Linked DNA regions of Homo sapiens: region 1 is linked to region 2. Evidence: promoter capture Hi-C in 16 types of primary human blood cells and fetal thymus (Javierre and others, 2016). All regions are on one chromosome and are shown on one strand. The core of a region is centred on a gene start or on the middle of the fragment in contact, and the rest is flanking DNA. Distances in the headings are between cores, read along the strand shown.

Region 1 (3,151 bases), core at 314-2,813, 6.4 Mb before region 2:
CAGATGATCGGCCAGCCTTGGCCTTCCAAAGTGCTGGGATTAAAGGCGTGAACCACTGCGCCTGGCCGGATAAGAACTCCTAATCCTTTCTGTAACTCCAAAGCCTAGGAAACCATCTGGCTTTTAGTTACCAGTAAAGGTAATCATATCCCGGCCTTTCCAAGTGTTCTTTCATGTATTTAATTATCATCTTCAACCAAGGCAATATACTAGACACATAAATAGTTGTAAGACTTGTGAAGTACACACCAGAAAAATTCTTTATCACACATATGATAAGTTAGAGTTCAGAAACTGTGGCCACAGAACTCCAGATCTTCAATACATGTTTGCTGAATTGATGTATGAGACTTGAGAAGGCAAAAGGATAGACGTTAAGTCCTGGCATCAGGCCAACAGAGTTACATGGAGCGTGTGAGAAGTACATAATGTTACACTTCCTAAGAAATATGTCAACGAATGCCCTTTCTAAGTAGCAACGTACCTAAATAACCCTTACCACTCTCTCCAGGTAGTTTTAACAAAGGTATTGTACCGCAGCTTCAAAAAATCAAAAGTTACGCGTTTACCTATCCATTCACTGCTCAGACAAAACAAAAACAAAAGCTACCTGTAGGAGACTTCGAAATTCCTTAATACCATAGTGTCATTAAAAACAAACACCTAGATTTACTTTACTTAGCTATATTTTACTAAGTAGTCAGGTTAGCTTTAATGCTTACCACGCCAAGGAAAGGTGGCTTTTTTCCTTTCCCGAGGGTAATCCCGTCCCACCTCCCCCTCCCTTAAATAAAGTTAAAACAACCCAAAAAAACCCAGCTAATTCTCAGCTCTGTACAGTTCTCCAGTACAAGCAACAGTAGTTCAACCTCAAGAAAAAGACATCTTAAAGGCCGTACATTAAAAGTTGCCAGGGATCCAGCCGCTTACATTTCATGAAAAGTACAGACCATACCCGTTTAGCTAGCTGTGCACCTTAACTGGTCGAGAAGGCGCGCTGGGGGCTGGGTTTGAGGGTGAGCAAAAGGCAAGATTATTAGTTTGGGTTGACGTGGGGGTCAAGGGGAGAGCAGAGGAATAATCTGTAAGATCTGAGTCCCGAAGCTCTTTGGGTTATGGAGGTTAGAAAAGGGCCTGTTAAAGTTAGGCCCAAGTTTCGGCAAGGTGGAACTGGGAAAAAAAAAAAAGAAAGAAAAAAAAAACGAAACCCGAAAAAACAACAGCGAGCAGGCTCCCGAGTTCTAGCGTTCACAGTGAAGCCGTTAAACGCAGCAGGAAAGTAGGCGTGTGTTTTCTTCCTCTTCCCGCCTCCCCAGAGACTCGAGCCCAGTCCTTTCCCCTCATTTTCACCCCAGCCGAGTCCAATGGCTGCCCTCGCCGCGGAGTCGGGTCGGAAGACGCCCCGCCCCCTCGCCGCGTTCGCCCTAGGGAACCCCTCCGCCCCACCTTCCCTGCCCGATGAGGGGCAGTGGCTGCCGCCGTCACGTGTGCTGGCAGCCGCCAAGTGAGGCCGCTTTTGCGACGCGGTGACAGCCAAATGGTGCGACAGGAGGAGCTGCAGCCGCGGCCGCAGCGCCCGCACGGAGAGGCTTGAGGCGGCTCCTGGCGTCGCCCAGAGGGAGCGACTAGACGAACAGTCCGGTGAGGGCGGCGAGAGGAAGCCCGCTACGAGTGCCCTAGCTCCCCGCCGCTCTCGATGAACCGGACGGAATAAGCCGCGCCTCCAGCAGGGGCTGCGCCTCCATGAATCCCTAGTTGTTTTTTTTTTTTTCTTTCTCTCCCCTCTCCTCACCCCCACCCCGAGCCCCGTCCCGCCTTCTCCCTTCGCCAGAGGCGGCCGCGTCCAGGTGCGGAGTCCATACCGGAGCGCAATGGCGTCCAACCCCGAACGGGGGGAGATTCTGCTCACGGAACTGCAGGTAAGGGCCGCGGCCCTGGTGAGAGGCGCTGGCGGAGGAGACAGGGAGAGAGCCCCGCGCGGCGTCGGGGACCGAGGAAAGCCCTGCGGCCGCCGCGCCCCTAGCCCGCTAAGTGCGGAAACTCCGGGATGTCACTCGGGAAATGCTTCCCTCGGGGAACCGCTTCCCTGGGGAGCCGGACCCTCTCCCCCGCCAAAGCCCTGGCCTGCCACCGCTTTGGTTTGATTCTGCCTACCAGAGGGGACCCCATCTCTGCAGCCCTGCTGCAGCGGGAGCCTGCTCTCGCCTGGTCCCCGGAGAGGCCGGCCCGTCGCCCCCTCCCTCGGTGTCAGAGCTACCCGCGAACGCCCCTGTTGCCCCCTCCCTTCGCGCGGCCGGGCCCCGCCCCGCCTTTCCTCCGTACACCGCTCCTTAAACTCCTTTGAATGACTCCCAAGCTGTTTTCTTGTCCCTCCCCCTCCCCTCAGACTCCGCACAAAGAGCGCCCCCATAACTTCCAGCCCCTAGACAAGTTTTTTTAAAAAACGAGTCTCACCAAATGTTTGCTTCACTTCAGCAGCCCTCTTCAGGTGACAGAGTTTCTTTCCTCTATTTTGAGGGTTATCTTTTTCTTTTCTTTTCCTTTCTTTTTTTTTTTTTAACCGAGTGATAAATACAGGGTGCCTTTCTCTGCTACCCCTGCCCAGATCCGGGAGCTCAGATGCTGATGCTTTTCAGACTTTCATTTTCCCTCTCATTTGAGCACCAGAGAAAGAGCTAATAAGTTGTTTACTAATGAGAAAGCAGTCGACTAAGGGAAAACATTGGGCACCACATGTCTGCAAAAGATGAGAGCAAAGTAGATCGCTTAGTTAAGTCATGTCGAGTAGCAATGTTATTTCCCATTTCCAGATAAATATTTGATAATGTAGGCACGATTTTCTTTAGATCTCTATGGTGTACATGGGGACTTAAGCTACCCTGTCGGGTTTTTCATTACTTGGGAGTGTTCCAGAGATGTTTGTTTTTTGACTTAAAAGTTATTTTGCTTTATTTTAATATAGTTATCTTTTAGCTACTCAAAGATTGTAGATGGGAATTAGGAGAAAAAAATAGCATGCCTGCATTTCTTTTTGTGTGTTGGACAGTTAATTTTTTTTAAAAAAAAGACTAAATCAAGAAATTCTGAAGAGTTGATGTCAAAATTAAGTATTGCAACTGCATCTAAATTTCTTGTTTAAATATACTTTTTA
Region 2 (3,223 bases), core at 260-2,759:
TGCAGACTCCCAGGGTCCATTAGGAAACACTGAATCAGAATTTCCGGGGATCGGGCACCTGGGATTAGCTTATGTAACCAGCGTGTCCATTCCTATCAGCAAGCAAGTTTGGGAGACTTTGTGAGTAGAGTCCGTGGACCTTACAACACTTTCCAAATTGTCTTCCATCAAATCTTCTTTCTTTTCTTTTCTTTTCTTTTTTTTTTTTTTTGAGACAGAGTCTCACTCTGTCGCTTGGCTGGAGTGCAGTGGCACAATCTTGGCTCACTGCAACCCCCACCTCCCAGGTTCAAGCGATTCTCCTGCCTCAGCCTCCCAAGTAGCTGGGACTACAGGCATGCACCACCATGCCTGGCTATTTTTTTTTTTTTTTTTTTTAGTAGAGACAGAGTTTCACCATGTTGGCCAGGCTGGTCTCGAACTCCTAACCTCAGGTGATCTGCCCGCCTCTACCTCCCAAAGTGCTGGGATTACAGGCATGAGCCACTGCGCCCGGCTCCATCAAATCTTCTTAACTATACATTCTCGCAGTAAGACCTTAAAGTGGATATTAGTTCCCTTTTTACAGACAAAGAAGTAGATTCCATAAAAGTTAAATAATTTGCCTAAGTCTACTTAGCTAGTAAGGGTGGAGAAAGTTCATAGTTGTGGACTTAGAAGTCAGTGTCTCTCAAATTTTAATGGAATCAGAATTCTCTGGGCTTACAAATGCGTAGTTGGAAGTCCAGAGGTAGGGTCTTTGGTGTAGTAAGAAAAACAGCTCAAGGATAATACAAGGAGTATCATTTACTTGTATATGCCCACTCTGCCATTCCTAATAATGTCTTCAACCTGAAACAGTCTTACCTGATACTTAAGACACTAGTGGTCCCAGAATGGGATGTGTGGATGGTTACATCCAACAGGGCAATCTCCATAGCCAAAAAAGAGGTTATCTTGTCGGGTCTTTTTTGCCCCTCCCCCCCAGTCTTGCTCTGTGGCACGGTCTCGGCTCACTGCAACCTCCACCTCTGGGATTCAAGCAATTCGCCTGGCTTAGCCTCCCAAGTAACTGGGACTACAGGTATGCGCCACCACACCCAGCTAATTTTTGTATTTTTAGTAGAGACGGGGTTTCACCATGTTGGTCAGGTTGGTCTTGAACCTGACCTCATGATCCGCCCACCTCAGCCTCCCAAAGTGCTGGGATTATACGGGTGAGCCATGACGCCCGGCCTGCTTTATTTTTTATTTTTTTAAAGGCAAGGAAACTTATTCTAGAACCCCTCACAGCAGACTTTCTTTCACTCCTTTTGGCCATACTTATATCACTTTCCCAGGCATAAAAGGAAAGCGACTTCAAAGCTGGTGGAGGTGGGAGGAGGATGATCTACAACTCACCTGTAATACATGGCTGTTGGATGGAGGGTGGGTACTGAACAAAATAGGCATTCTCTCAGTGAGGAGGAAGCTGCAGGGAGGGTTGTTGGGTAGGCAAACAATAGCATCTAGATTGCTGTGATGATGATGTGTCTGAAACAGCTTTGTAAACTGACACATGCAATGAAAATGTCAGGCATATGATAATTACTTAGCTCCAGGCCCCAAGCTCTATATTAAGGTAGATTTAATACTTGGAGGACACCCTTGCATTTCCCATTACTTCATCCCCTCACTATTATAATTACCTATATCTGTAGGAAATATTAGTTTGACCACACTTGGCATGTAGCTGGAATGAATGGAAGCAATCAAACATTGGGGGCTTGCAAGGAAATGCAGAGAATCAAAGAGGGTGGGGTACCAGACATTGTTTGGACTTATTGGTTGAATTATTCTGAATTAAGGTGATCATAAAACTCTTTAGTTTTCCTGCCAAGAAAGTTGAGAACTGCAGGGAGCAGCTAGGTAGCAGGCAGGGACAGGAACATAGCTGAGAATTCCTGCCAAAAATGTCACCTGGGTAAGCCAAGTCCTGGGCTGTGACAGACACAGAATGTATAGATAATCAAGAAGTCAAGAAGCTGTAGTGGGCCAGGCATGGTGGCTCATGCCTGTAATCTCAGCAATCTAGGAGGCCAAGGCAGGAGGATCACTTGAACCTCAGAGTTTGAGACCAGCCAAGGCAACAGAGTGAGACCCTATCTCTGTAAAAAATTAACCAGGCATGATGGTGGTGTGTACCTGTAGTCCCAGCTACTCAGGAGGCTGGGGTGGGAGGTTTGCTTAAACCCAAGAGATCAAGGCTGCAGTGAGCCATATTTGCACTACTGCACTCCAGCCTGGGTGACAGAGACCCTGTCTCAAAAAAAAAAAAAAAAAAAAAAAAAAAAAAAAGGCCAGGTGCGGTGGCTCATGCCTGTAATCTCAGCACTTTGGGAGGCTGAGGAGGGTGGATCAGCTGAGATCGGGAGTTTCAGACCAGCCTGACCAACATGGAGAAACCCCGTCTCTACTAAAAATACAAAATTAGCAGGGCATGGTGTCACATGCCTGTAATCCCAGCTACTCAGGAGGCTGAGGCAGGAGAATTGCTTGAACCCGGGAGGGGGAGGTTGCAGTGAGCTGAGATCGTGCCATTGCACTCCAGCCTGGGCAACAAGATCGAAACTCTGTCTCAAAAAAAAAAAAAAAAAGCTATAGTGGATTAATCAGGAAAGTTAAGACTGAGTGAGAAGAAGCAACAATTAAAATTTCTCTTGGGAAGATGAGTTGCGCTGACAGTACATTTAACAGATTCATGGAAGTAAATTATAGTGCTGCAAAAAGCATGAAAACTATGTTAATAGTTGACAAAATGAATAACGATATGTGGTCTATAACCAGTCATAAGTAAAGCATGTCTGGGAGGTGATTTTTTTTTTTTTTTTTCTGAGACAGGGTCTCACTCTGTCACCCAGGTTGGCATGCAGTGATGCGCTCTCAGCTCACTGCAGCCTCAACCTCCCTGGGCTCGGGAGATGCTCTCACCTCAGTGTCCCAAGTAACTGGGACTACAGGTGTATGCCACCATGCATGGCTAATTTTTGTATTTTTTGTAGAGTCAGGGTTTTACCACATTGCCCAGGCTGGTCTCAAACTCCTGAACTCAGGCAATCCACCCGCTTCAGCTTCCCAAAGTGCTGGGAGTACAGGTGTGAGCCACGTAGCTCAGCCTGGGAGGTGATTTTTATTCTCTTCTTTTTTTTTTTTTTTTGAGACAGAGTCTCACTCTATCGCCCAGGCTAGAGTGCAATGGCGCGAT

What was found. Contacts are between HindIII fragments. The CHiCAGO score rates a contact against its expected background, and 5 or more counts as called.
Region 1: the fragment with the promoter of PKN2 here is called in contact with a fragment that was not itself captured in region 2 in 1 of 17 cell types (non-activated CD4 T cells); the score reaches 7.6 in non-activated CD4 T cells.

What each region holds. Positions count from the first base shown.
Region 1 is chr1:88,682,710-88,685,860 of GRCh38, forward strand. It overlaps PKN2 (protein kinase N2), which reads left to right and starts at 1,564. Exons shown (of 22, transcript NM_006256.4): 1 at 1,564-1,919. The coding sequence starts at 1,872. It overlaps PKN2-AS1 (PKN2 antisense RNA 1), which reads right to left and starts at 2,495. Exons shown (of 4, transcript NR_110682.1): 1 at 2,455-2,495. RefSeq lists enhancers at 1,399-1,728, 1,759-1,838. The HindIII fragment of the contact is 6,383 bases long and covers 1-3,151 here.
Region 2 is chr1:95,074,151-95,077,373 of GRCh38, forward strand. No RefSeq gene overlaps it. Among named protein-coding and RNA genes, the nearest start is that of ALG14, 2.8 kb to the left of the region's middle. The HindIII fragment of the contact is 4,740 bases long and covers 1-3,223 here.